3 separate regions of the Homo sapiens genome follow, and regions 1 and 2 are each linked to region 3. Evidence: promoter capture Hi-C in human tissues and cell types (Jung and others, 2019). All regions are on one chromosome and are shown on one strand. The core of a region is centred on a gene start or on the middle of the fragment in contact, and the rest is flanking DNA. Distances in the headings are between cores, read along the strand shown.

What was found. Contacts are between HindIII fragments. The study calls those that stand out against the background at their distance.
Region 1: a contact is called between a fragment that was not itself captured here and the fragment with the promoter of ADCYAP1R1 in region 3, in 4 of the 25 tissues and cell types used here (H1 embryonic stem cells, heart right ventricle, mesendoderm cells and 1 more).
Region 2: a fragment that was not itself captured here is called in contact with the fragment with the promoter of ADCYAP1R1 in region 3 in 2 of the 25 tissues and cell types used here (H1 embryonic stem cells and mesendoderm cells).

The regions. Positions count from the first base shown.
Region 1 is chr7:30,927,355-30,931,203 of GRCh38, forward strand. No RefSeq gene overlaps it. Among named protein-coding and RNA genes, the nearest start is that of AQP1, 17 kb to the left of the region's middle. The HindIII fragment of the contact is 4,778 bases long and covers 1-3,849 here.
Region 2 is chr7:31,122,691-31,126,660 of GRCh38, forward strand. No RefSeq gene overlaps it. Among named protein-coding and RNA genes, the nearest start is that of ADCYAP1R1, 72 kb to the left of the region's middle. The HindIII fragment of the contact is 4,582 bases long and covers 1-3,796 here.
Region 3 is chr7:31,049,269-31,053,572 of GRCh38, forward strand. ADCYAP1R1 (ADCYAP receptor type I) reads left to right here and starts at 3,040. Exons shown (of 16, transcript NM_001118.5): 1 at 3,040-3,410. The HindIII fragment of the contact is 8,235 bases long and covers 1-4,304 here.

The DNA of each region.
Region 1 (3,849 bases), core at 1,139-3,638, 120 kb before region 3:
CACTAAGACAGGCCCTCAGCTACCCATCAGGCCAGGGGGCAACAGCTTTGGGCTAAAGGGATCCTAGACTCCTCCTCACCTTCCAGCCTGTGGGTTTAGTGCTCCAGGCACCCCATCTCTTTGGGGCTACCCCTGACTCTGATCTTCTCATCTTCTATACAGCCCAACACAGGGAGAGGTTTGAGGAAATAACAGATGAAGTGGTGCTCCTTGGGCAGCTGAGACCTTGTCTGTTTGTTCATCAGACTTTAATGGAGGTAGTAAATTTCCTGAAAACTCCCAGGATTCAATCTTTTTCCTCAGGCTGTTGAACATTCAGGCAACTGCACATGTGATGTGACTTGGTGAGGGGCACCTGTCACGCATCTCTGACTGGGTCCCTGATGAGACCAGACAACAGGTCACTATCTCCATCAGACACCCTCCTGGCCCTCCCCTTGAGACTTGCACACGGAATGGCTCAGCTGGCTTGGAAGGTCATGCCCTCTGCACCTGGCCCAGAAGGAAGCAGGATGTAATCCAGCAGCCACTGAATCCTAGAATATTTGTCTTTCCATTAAATTCACAAGAGCAAAAAGTTACGGTTCTGCAATTGCTCCATTTATTCTGAGGCCCCCTAGGAACCCTAGGAAGATCAGGTCAGCCAGAGCCCAGCAGTGAATGTTCACTTCAGCCACACATATTTATGATCTCAAGCATCGGATCAACCTCTTCTGGGTTTCTAAACATTCAGGAGTCTGAGATCCTTACAGATCCATATTTTCTTTTTGACATTTCACTTTCTCCTCCAGAATCAAGGGGATTCATCTTTCCTGGCCCTGGAGGGGTGTTGAGAGGTTATAGGGAGAAGACTTGATTTCTGAAATACCGTGGACTAGGATTCATCCACTGGTCAGAGATGTGGTGAAGCTTCAGCGGGGTTAGTGGCCCATAGCCCTGGCCCTGCTCCCAGCACCGTCATCCATCTCAAAGCTCCTGTGGGCTCCGAGGGCCCAAATGGAAGGGTGTGGGTGGCTCAAGGCCACTTGACCACAAGGACCACGGCACTCTTGGGGGATGCGGTAGGTGCAAGGAGGGTTCTCTCTCTTTCGGGATTCTTAGGCGGTCCTCAGTATCCCTGGAACCCAAGCCAGGAGTCTGGAAAAGCACTGGAGGAACTGGTGCCGGGGCCCCCACCCATGGCGTGGCCAGGCCATGTGCTGGCCCATTGGGATTTTTCCATCGCTCCTGTAGGTCATGCCTTCACTGGTCAGAAGCCTGTCTAGGAGGGGACAGTGATTAATGTTTCATGGAGGAACTGCTGGGCATGACACCTTGTTTTCTTTAGGTTTAGAATACAATGAGGACGATGAGTGGAATTTGCTGCTGAGCTGGGGGCCAGGATGGGGCCATTCTTGGGGGCCCAAAGACCCAAAGGTAGTGATGTTTACTGTCCTTACTGCCAAAAAGGGGGCGATTGTGTAGGTAGGGAAGGCAGGTGAAGCCCGTGCTTACAGGGGTGTCTTCCCTAGCCCTCAAGAGCCCACTAGTCCCCACTGATACCTTGGGCCCTGGTGTGCAGAGAGACCTATGGCAAAGGGTATCCAGCAATTTTAATGAGCTCATCCTGCTTAGGTGATTCTGCTTCATTCCAATAAAGCCATGTTCTCTGCATGTAGGATTTTGCTTATTTTTCTGTTCTTTCCAGCGCATCAATCTGGAACTGGGTGAGAGCACAACTGATCTTCAGCCGTACGGGCTAGTACAGATTCACCTGTTTTTTTTTTTTTTTTTTTGAGATGAAGTCTCCCTCTGTTGCCCAGGCTGAAGTGCAGTGGTGCGATCTCAGCTCACTGCAACCTCTGCCTCCCGGGTTCAAGTGATTCTCCTGCCTCAGCCTCCCGAGTAGCTGGGATTACAGGCGTGTGCCACCACACTTGGCTAGTTTTTGTATTTTTAGTAGAGACGGGGTTTCATCATGTTGGCCAGGCTGTCTTAAACTCCTGACCTCAGGTGATCCATCCACTTCAGCCTCCCAAAGTGCTGGGATTACAGGCACGAGCCACCGTGCCCAGCCCACCTGCTCTTAAAATATTAAAATATTTTCATCTGTTTTGAGCTATCCAAGTAACATCCTCCCATCCCTGCTCTCTGGCCTTCCTAGCTTCCCGGCCTCTCTCTATTCTCCCCCAGACCTCCCCACAATCCAGCACTCAATGTGTTAAGGGGGCCCCTCGGACCCTGTCCAGTACTAAAGTTGTGGGATAGTTCTGATGGATTGGTGTCCCCACAATACCAGGATGGTATATGTTTTACACATCAACCCTGGGTGGGAAGCAGTAAGAGGTGTCTATCCAGCAAGGTCCAAGTTAGAAAAAAAGTGTGTGTATGTGCATGTGTGTGTGTGTCAGCAGATTGGGGCACATAGTCCAAGGCTGGAGTCCAAGGCTCCTGCCCTCTCTGGTCCTCAGTCTCCCCACCCGTAAGGAGAGTGGGTGAAGTCGTCCCTTCTCTGTGATGTCTGTGGTGTCCCAGTCCCTCCCTGACCTGGAGGTGGTGCTTTGCTTCATCTGGAATGCCCAGGGAGTGAGGCCAGGTGGGACAGTGACAGTGCATGTGTGGGGTGCAGCTGGGACCTGGGGGGCATCTTTCCCCCAGGATGCTCCCATTGTGCTCTGACGGCTCTGCTCCCTCTGTGCCTTGAGTTATGTGGAACTCAAGAGACGTGTTCTTCCTAACAGATGTCACCACCAGCTACTAGACTCAGTTTGCCTAGAGCCAGCATGCTCTCCAGGTAGAATATTGATTTGAGAAGGCTGGCCTGGCTTGTGTTCATTAAGGGTGAATTGGCATACATTTCTCAATAAGCTTAAGTAGGTAAGTAGATATATAATTTGTAGAAGAGTATTATCCTTTCTCCCTCTGAAATAGTAATATGAGGGAAGCTGATTCAACAAAAGAGTCCAATCCAAAAAAAGCAAATCAGAGAATCAGTACAGATGAAAAAGTTCTTAAGGATTGAAGCTTACAATTCACAGCAGTCTTGAACACTCTGAAAGGGGTCAAAGTGTCCCTGGTGCCTTATTTCATATGAGTGTTTTTTTTTTAAACTTAGCTTATATTTTTCATAATGCAACTTAAATAGATGTAATAACTTATGCCTTTAAGGAACTCAAATAGGAAACCAAAACAAATCAAACCAATGAAAGTAAGAAAATTTATTTTAATCATGTACGTGTAAAGTTGATGGCTGGGGGTGGTGCTTATGGCACACAGGGTGTTAATATATTTGGAATATCACTTTGGGTGTGTGTGTGTGTGTGTGTGTGTGTGTGTGTGCACGTGCATAGGAGGTTCAGTTCTTCGGAGAGTCATGTCAGGCCTGTCAGCAGGAATGCCCACGCTGCATCTGTGCACGTCTGCGAGCTGCCTGTGGGCCCAGCTGCAGGGTCTTCTGGACTGTGTCAGGCTACTGCCTGCCGGGGATGACAGGATTCATGTGGACTCCAAGGAAACCTTTAAATCTAGCTGTTGAACAATATGAGGGCATCTTATCCAGACCCAGTCGCAGAATAGAGGCACATTGCCGAGTTCTGGGCAGCTGATGTTGTTTTTTCCTGCTGGGAAGAGCAAGTTCCTGGGGGTCTGGTGGGAGGCTGGGCTCCCCTTCCTCACTTGCCAAACCAGGCTGTCAGGACCAATGCTCTCATCCATCTTCTTTGCCAGATCCAACGTCTAACCTTGGACTGATTATACACAAAATATTTTTTTGGGTCAGTGAACATTTTTTTTTCAATAAGAAATGTATAATAAATTCGAAATGTGATAAGAATGTCAGTAACCTTTGTATTCATTGATCACATTTCCTCA
Region 2 (3,970 bases), core at 256-2,755, 72 kb after region 3:
TCAGAGCCACTCCTCCCCCAGCCAAGCTGCCCCTCAACAAGTTCCCCATCTTGGCTTCTTAGGGCAAAATTCAGCGTCTGGGTGTGCACTGCCCTCTTCTGGTCATTTGGTTGGTAACACGAGCAGCCAAGAGCTCCCCTTTGGAAATAGCAGGAGCTCTTTCCAGTTCCGATTTTTCTGCCAACCAGGCTTGTTTCCACACAATGACTCATAAGTGAGATAATGAAGGGCAAGAACAAGTTAAAATATTTACTATAATTTACATTTGGAGGAAAAACTTTAGTCTTACATTGCCTGTAGAAAGAATGTGTCCTACAGAGGATTTTGCAGTGGTTTAACCCTTTATATTTTTTTGATAAAGCACACATTTACTTTTTTTTTTCTGATCATACAGAAAACTTATTTATTGAGACCACATAAATATAAGAAGCATGGCTTTGGTGTCATTTAGAAAGTGAACATGTGTCTAAGAATTTTCACACTAGATTGTAAACACTAACATAACTGATCTATCCATCTTTGGATTTTCATTGAGATATTTACTAAGTCCATCATCCGATGCTTTTGAGGACATGAAAGTTAAAGAGATAAGAATCTTGATCTCAAGAAGCTTTATTATTTTTAAGAATGTTAATAAAGACTCTAAAAAGAAGGCAAACAGGGAAATGCATCCTCCCCAAAGCTGCTAGTGCCAGGACTAGGCGCCTTCCCCAGTCCAGCGGCTGCAGGTTGGGTTGCTAAGAGCTTACCCTGCCCTCTTCTGCAGACAATTGCTGGCAGATTTCTGAGGGGTAAGACTACCCCCTTCACCTTTCTCATCCAGGGTGGCCGGTAGCCAGTGACTGAGGGATGTAGGGGTAACCGCCCAGCCGCCTTGCCTCTGGTTGGGACCACCTCTGTGGTTGACATCAGTGGCTCCTGCTGGATCAGCATGAGGCTGATTCTGCTGAGGTCTGGCTCCTTCCTCCACCCATCCCCGCTTCCTCACTGCCCTTCAGTGTCTCCCCATGCACTCCTTCTGTAAGATCCCTGCTCAAGGATCTCTACTTCAGGCTCTACTGCTACAGAATCTAGACAAAAACATGTGCCATCAACAAGGCCCAGAAAAGATAAGGTCCAGTTTCAGGATTAGGGAAAACTTGCCTTGAAGGTCAGGTTAGATCTAGGCATGGAAGAACTGTTCATCTAGCCTACTGACACTTATTGACTGAGTGCCTTCAATGAGCTGGGCACTCTTCCAGGCCTTGGGGCATAGCAGCAGATATGACAATCTTGTTATCGCTGGCACAATAATTCTAGCAGAGAGGGAAAGAAACAGGAAACAAATAATGGAGAATAAGATGAATTCAGTTAAGTTCTTTTTTTTTTTTTTTGGAGACGGGGTCTTACTCTGTCTCCCAGGCTGAAGTGCAGGGACTGGACCACAGCTCACTGCAGCCTTGACCTCCTGGGCTCAATTGATCCTCCCACCACCTCCTGGGTAGCTGGGATACAGGTGTGCACCACACCACACCTGGCTAATTTTTTTGTTTTTTTTTTTTTTTTTTTTTTAGAAATGGGGTTTCTCCATATTGCCTAGCCTGGTCTTGAACTCCTGGGCTCAAGCGATCCACCCACCTCAGCCTACCAAAGTGCTGGGATCACAGATGTGGCCACCGTACCTAGACAACTTATGTTCAATAGTGAAAATAAAATATGGCAACCAGATACTGTCACCAGATCCATTTTCCTACAATTCTCCAAAAATTTACCCTTGAGAAATTAGGTGATTCATTTATCTAGTTATAACAATTGGAACCTTTCTCCTGTCATAATTCTTCATCTCTGATGGTACTGGCTCAGTCAACGTCAACTTCCATTGAGTTCCTGCTGAGGATACTCACTTTAAATCATGGCATTGACACCAAACTTATTCTATAGTCTGTATTTGGGGTCTGGCACAGTGGCTCACACCTGTAATCTCAGCACTTTGGGAGGCCCCAGCAGGAGGAGCCCTTGAGCTCAGGAGTTTGAGACCAACTTGGGCAACATAGTGAGACTTCGTCTTTACTAAAAATAAAAAAAAAAATTAGACAGGGGTGGTGGTGCATGCCTGTGGTCCCAGCTACTTGGGAGGCTGAGGTGGGAGGATCACTTGAACCTGGGAGACGGAGGCTGCAGTGAGCTGAGATCGCACCACTGCACTCCAGCCTAAGTGACAGAGTAAGAGTCTGTCTCAAAAACAAAACAAAATGAAACAAAGCAAAGCAAAATAAAACAAAAAACAAAACCCAAAATAAACCAAAGTCTGTAGTTGGGATCTTGAAACATTCTCTGGGCTTTCCATGTAACATTACAAGCACTGAAGCATGTTGTTTGGGTTCTGGACTCACCGCAGAGAGGCAGCCTTCTAAAGCAGCGGTTCCCAATCTTTTTGGCATCAGGGACTGGTTTCATGGAAGACAATTTTTCCAGGGACTGGGTGGCAGGAGGATGGTTTTGGGATGAAACTGTTCCACCTCAGATCATCAGGCATTAGATTCTTGTAAGGAGAATGCACCTAGATCCCTCCCTGTGCAGTTTACAATAGGCTTGAGCTCCTGTGAGAATCAAATGCAACTGCTGATCTGACAAGAAGCGGAGCTCAGGCGGTAATGCTTGCTCATCTGCCACTCCCTCCTGCTGCGCAGCCCAGGTCCTCTGGTCTAAAGGAAGGCAGCCAATACCTGTGACTACCCAAGAGATGCCCCTGGGACAAAGGAACTGTGCCTTTGAGAGAGCCCAGGGTTGACGCATCCTGCATAGCTGCTCTCTTGATTCCATTCTCCATGCCAATGTCCTGCAGCCACACTGTCCTTTGATCCCATAAGCCTTCCTAAGGCCTACAGCCTCAGGAGAGAAAATGTCCTTTTTTTTTTGACCTATAAGCCTGGTGGCAGGCATGTATTTTATTCATCTTCCTATGCCTCATGGGCACAGCAAAATCCCATTACACAGGAGTTAACCAGTGAAGTTGGTGGAAATAAGTGAACTTCAGGGTCCTCCATAATGCCCACTTGCCCTTTTCCTTCTTAGGATCCCAATAGCCAGGCCAGAATCCTGTCTCTATTAAACAAGCCTCTAGCTTTCCAGCCAGTGTGCCTTGGCTCAGCCTGTTCTCCCGCTCAGAGGCTGCCTGGTAGAACAGAAAGGAACCCCAAAGTGTGTAACTTAGGGCAAATGGCTTCTCCATAGAAATCTTGCATACAGTGTCCAGCTCCTGTCAGTATACAGTAGGTGTTCAAGATACTTCATTCTCTAGCTTTCCACATTACAACAGACCAAATGTTTGCGGCCCCCTCCCCACCCAAATTCGTATGTTGAAACTTAACCGCCGTTGGATGGTATTAGGAGGTGGGGCCTTTGGGAGGCAATTAGATCATGAGGGTGGAGACCTCATTAATAGAATCAGTGCCATTATAAGAGAGATCCGAAAGAGCTCCCTTCCTCCTTCTTGCCATGTGAGGACACAGAGAGAAGACGGCCATGGATGAGCCAGGAAGTGGGTCCCCACCAGACACCTTGATCTTGGACCTCTGCAGGCACCTTGATCTTGGGCTTCTCAGTTTCCAGAACTATAAGTGAAATTCTGTTGCTTATAAGCCACCTGTTCTCTGGTATTCTTTAAAGCACCCTGAATGATATCCATCTTCCACCCAGTAGACTTTTTTATTTTACTTTTAAGTTCTAGGATACATGTGCACAACCTGCAGGTTTGTTACATATGTATACATGTGCCGTGTTGGTGTGCTGCACCCATTAACTCGTCATTTATGTTAGGTATATCTCCTAATGCTATCCCTCCCCCACTCCCCCAACCCCACCACAGGCCCCGGTGTGTGATGTTCCCCACCCTGTGTCCAGGTGTTCTCATTGTTCAATTCCCCCCTATGAGTGAGAACATGCGGTGTTTGGTTTTCTGTCCTTGCGATAGTTTGCTCAGAATGATGGT
Region 3 (4,304 bases), core at 1,790-4,289:
CCGGGGGGATTCTGTAGCGCCCGGAGGGTTGACAAGCACTGGTGCAAGACATGGTGAGCATTCGGTCGATGTCAGCTGTCTACAATAAAGCACCTGGGTCCTTGTGTGTGCTGTTCTTGCCTGAGCAGCGTAAAAGCTGGAGTGGGGTGGGGTAGAGTGGGGTGGGCTGGGGTGGGAGCCCTGTAGTCAGGGAGGAAACTGTTGCTTAGGAAAGATGAATGCTGGGTAGGGTGGCCTGGCATCCATCTCCCTCAGCCACGTCTCAGAAAATTGAATTAAAACCCATATTTTTCAGCTGCTGCCCGCCTGGCTGGCTGGCTTGTGGAAGGGAGTGAGGCAGTGAGCACCTCAAGGCAGGGAAAAGCTGGTGAGGGGGGCCCCCAGCCTCCTTCCCTAGGAGACAGAAGGCAGCCCAAGGGGTCCTCTGAGAGAAGACCCTTCCCAGGGGTGGTCCCTTGGCCTCAGGTCTTCCCAAAGCCAGGCACGTAGGGGTAGGGTGGGAGTGGTAGGCTGGCTGGCTTACAAGGTCAGAGCTAGATCTGGAGGTGAAGTTGATTTTTTGGGTGAATGGGTGGGGAGGCAGAGAAGAGGGGCCTGTCCCTGGGGAGGCCTAATCTCAGGGAACAGAATTGGCATAGCTCCTCTTCCAAGATTATTTGGAGAGACCACAGTGGCATGCCTGTGACAGGCGGAGAACAGCGCAGGACGTGAAAGCCTGAGTGGCTTCCAGAATTAAGGGGGTGGGAAGAGCTCACAAGGTAGAACAACACTAAGTTGGGCAGCAGGATAAGATTTCTGATAAGAAAGTTGCCTGTGTGTCCTTGGGCTAGTCTTGTTGCCCCTCTGGGCTAAGGTACCCCACCCATAGAGAAGGAGACTAGACAACCCTCCTGGATCCCAGCTCTAATGTGTGTTCCATGCCTCACCCAGGCTGATGCTACTCGGGGGGCTGGAATTAGAATCGAAATCTACGAGGGCTGCTAGCCTACACGGCATCTTTAAGACAGTTAGAGAGGTGCCGCCTCCAGGTGAATCCACTAGAAAAAACTGCCCTTTTTGGGTAGATGGGGGCATGCCTGGTTTGGTGGGCAGTGGGTAGAGCAGGATCTGGATTTCCAGCCCCACTGGCCCCTTCCAGGGGATCTGGAACCCGCAGTGGAAACTGGAGAACCAAGAGTACGGAAAGAGAATAAATCTGGAACTGAGTGCTGAACTTCAAAGTAGGGGGGCCTCTATCTGGAAGCCTGGCCATCCACATTCCCAGGATGGGCTGGTCTGCCATAGATGACCTTGATCTTCACCCTTCCTCTCACTCCCAGGCCCTCTACGTCCTGCACTCTGAGTCCCTCTTGACTCTGAGACTCCTGGCAGCCTCCTTTCCCTCACACTTAGTTTCACAGTTTATAGAGAGTTTTTATACACATCATCTCATTTGATCTTCACAACACCAGAGTTGGAGGCAGATGAAGAAAGCGGCTCTCAGCTCTCAGGGGTTAGGGCAACAAGCTAAGAAGGGGTTAGCCAGGATTAAAGGGAGGTCCTGTCTGTGTCTGATTTTAGCACAGCACCTGGCCCTTTTCTCTCCATTATTTCTTCTCTCCTTTCTCTTCATTCTTTCTTGATATAGATAAGACTGATATTCTCCTCCACCAGGAAGCTCTCCTGGACTGAAAGGAACATGAACCAATCAGACTACCAGTGTGTTGTGTCAATGGGGGTCAGCGGTCATTGGTCAGTAAAGAGAAACATGGACCTAGGAACCTCCACGCGTCTTTCTGGGCCCTCAGATTGCTTCTTTCAAGTTTCCATATGGATTCCTCTCCATCCACAGGTCCTTTCCTCTTTGGTAGACTGGCGACCCCAAAGGAAGGCTCAAGGCTCTCCCTCCTCCTTCCCCCTTCTTGAGGCCTCCTGGACAAGGTGGCCATACCTAGAACTTGGACCCAAAGGGAAGCTGAGCGAGAATTTACTTGAATGGGCAAGAACAGAGCCTGGCTGCAGAACTGAGAGCTCTCAGAGACTGACGCCTGAGGCAGGGACCAAAAACCGAGAGCAGAGGCAGGCAGGAGCAGCTGTGGGATGGGGGCTGGGTGGGGTGGGCAGAGGGTGAGAACTTGCCTGGGAGTGGGTAACTAACTACTCTCAGTTAAGTTTGGGCTTCGCTGCCAACCCGCTAGGCCACCTTTACCTGTGTAGTTCTCCTTATTAAGCCATTTGCACTAGGAGGAGGTTGGACAGGACTGTAATAACAGTAGCAATAGTAATTTATTCAGCATCGGCGAATCAATGATACCAGGGAGAAACTACTATGGGGTGAGTGTACCATTTTTATTTAATGCTGCTGTGAAGAGACCTGGGGGCCGGTACTATTGTTCCCTTGTGCAGATGAAGAAGCTGAAGCTCAGAGAGGCTGAGCCACTTACCCAAGCTCACAGAGCTGTGGCACAGCAGGGACTGGAGCCAGGCAGTCTGATATTTTAAGTTGCCTCTGTCCTGTAAGCACCACCATCCCCTTCCTGGTCTTTCTCCGGGGGCGGGGGGGTCACATTGGAGGACATCCCGACAGGCACCCCAAAACTAGCTGACCCTCCCAGGCCTGGGCGGTAGGGGCAAAGAAGAGCCCAAGGAGGGTCTGAGACTTGCCTGGTAAGGAAGGCTTCTTGGAGGAGAGGGAAGACAGGCTCTGATACACAGGAAATCTTGAGGACCTAGGGAGAAGAAAGAAGGCTTTCTAGTCCTGGCTATGATGGAGAGACTGGAAAGAGGGTGGTGAGCCCAGGAGGCCCAGAGTCAGAGGAGACGGGGATGACAGGGGGCTGAGGGCTCCACCTCAGCGCCCCCGACCCCCGCCGCTGGGATTTCCCGCCGCAGCTCCTGCTCCAGTCTGTGCTGCGGGTGGGGTCGGGTTGAGCAGCCCGGCGCCCCCCACCGCGCCCCCCACCGCACCGCCCTCGATCTAACCCCGCCCCCGGGCGCTCATTGGCCTGCAGCACCCCCTCCCCAGCCTGTGAAGTGAGCAGGGGGAGGCGGTGGTCGGTCGCCTCCCTCCAGCGCCCAGCCTGGCTTCGCGGCGGAGGCGGCGCCTCTCCCGCAGGACGGAGCCAAGCTGGACTGCCGCGCCGCGCGGGGCGGGCAAAGGGGGCGCTGCGCTCGGCCCCGGGCAGGGAGTGACGGCGGCGGCGGCGGCTCCGGGCGAGCGTGGTCCCCGCGTGCGCACACGCACACGCCGCCGCGCAGGGACACACGGACCCCGGCCGCCAGCCGGCCACACAGGCGCGGAGACCCGGCTCGGCGCGCGCTCCTCGGCGCACACGCTCCCCATCCCCGCGCCGCGCGGGCCGCGGACTTGCAGGCTGCGCGTCCTTTGCGGAGTCTGCCCCGGCCCCACGGACAGGCCCCGCAGTGAGCAGGTAAGGGTCGCCCCGCCGCGGCTGCCCCTCCACGCCTCGGCCGTCTTCTCCCCCTCCAGAACCTTCGCCCAGCCGGGACCTCGGATCCCCTCCTCTGGCTTGGCGGTCTCCGCCAGCCGCGACCTCCACCGACGGAGAGCGGGCGAGGGCCGGCGCCAGGCAAGCCTCCCAGATCTGAAATGAAGCCCCCTCCCGCCGCTGCGCCCTTCCTGCGCGTCAGGCTGACACCCCCCAACCCAAGTGTCTGGCGCTGCGCTCGGGGCGGCCGATCGCCGCAGACTGCCGGGGTGGGGGTCGACCTAGCTATCTCACGCCCCTCCTGATGCGGAGAAGGGAGACCAGGGGGGCAGGCAAGCCATGCGGCCGGAGGGACCCGGAGGGACATGCCTCCCTACCCTTAGGTGGACGGACGCACCTACGCGGATCGGGAAGGCAGGGCTGGAGGGTCCCCCGGGGCTAGGTACCGCAATCCGCACGGGGTTTGAGGGGTGGGCAAGCAATGTGCTAGGTGGGGGTTGGGGTAGGGGCCAGTGTAGAATGCCCCTCTGTGGTGACACATCCGGGATTGTTCAAAAGAGTGTCGTCTTCGTTTCCCGTGGCGCGGAGGGGCTGGGGTTGGGGATGCCAGGGCTTCAGTGGTCCCCAGAAGAAACGCCCTGCGGGGTCTGTGGGGAAACGCACCGGCCTTCCCAGGTTGAAGTGGGCCCGCTGAGACCCCTGCCTGCCGCTTTAGAGGCAGAAGCTCCTGCGGCGGCTGCGGGGGGCGGAGGCCACATCCTCGGCGGGACCTTGGCAGGTTAGGGGGCTCAGAAGGGACAGGGGAGCCGATGGATGCAACTAGACCCTCAGGAGGGAACCCAGCCGGAAGCCGATTGCATTTCACGTGGAGCTGAG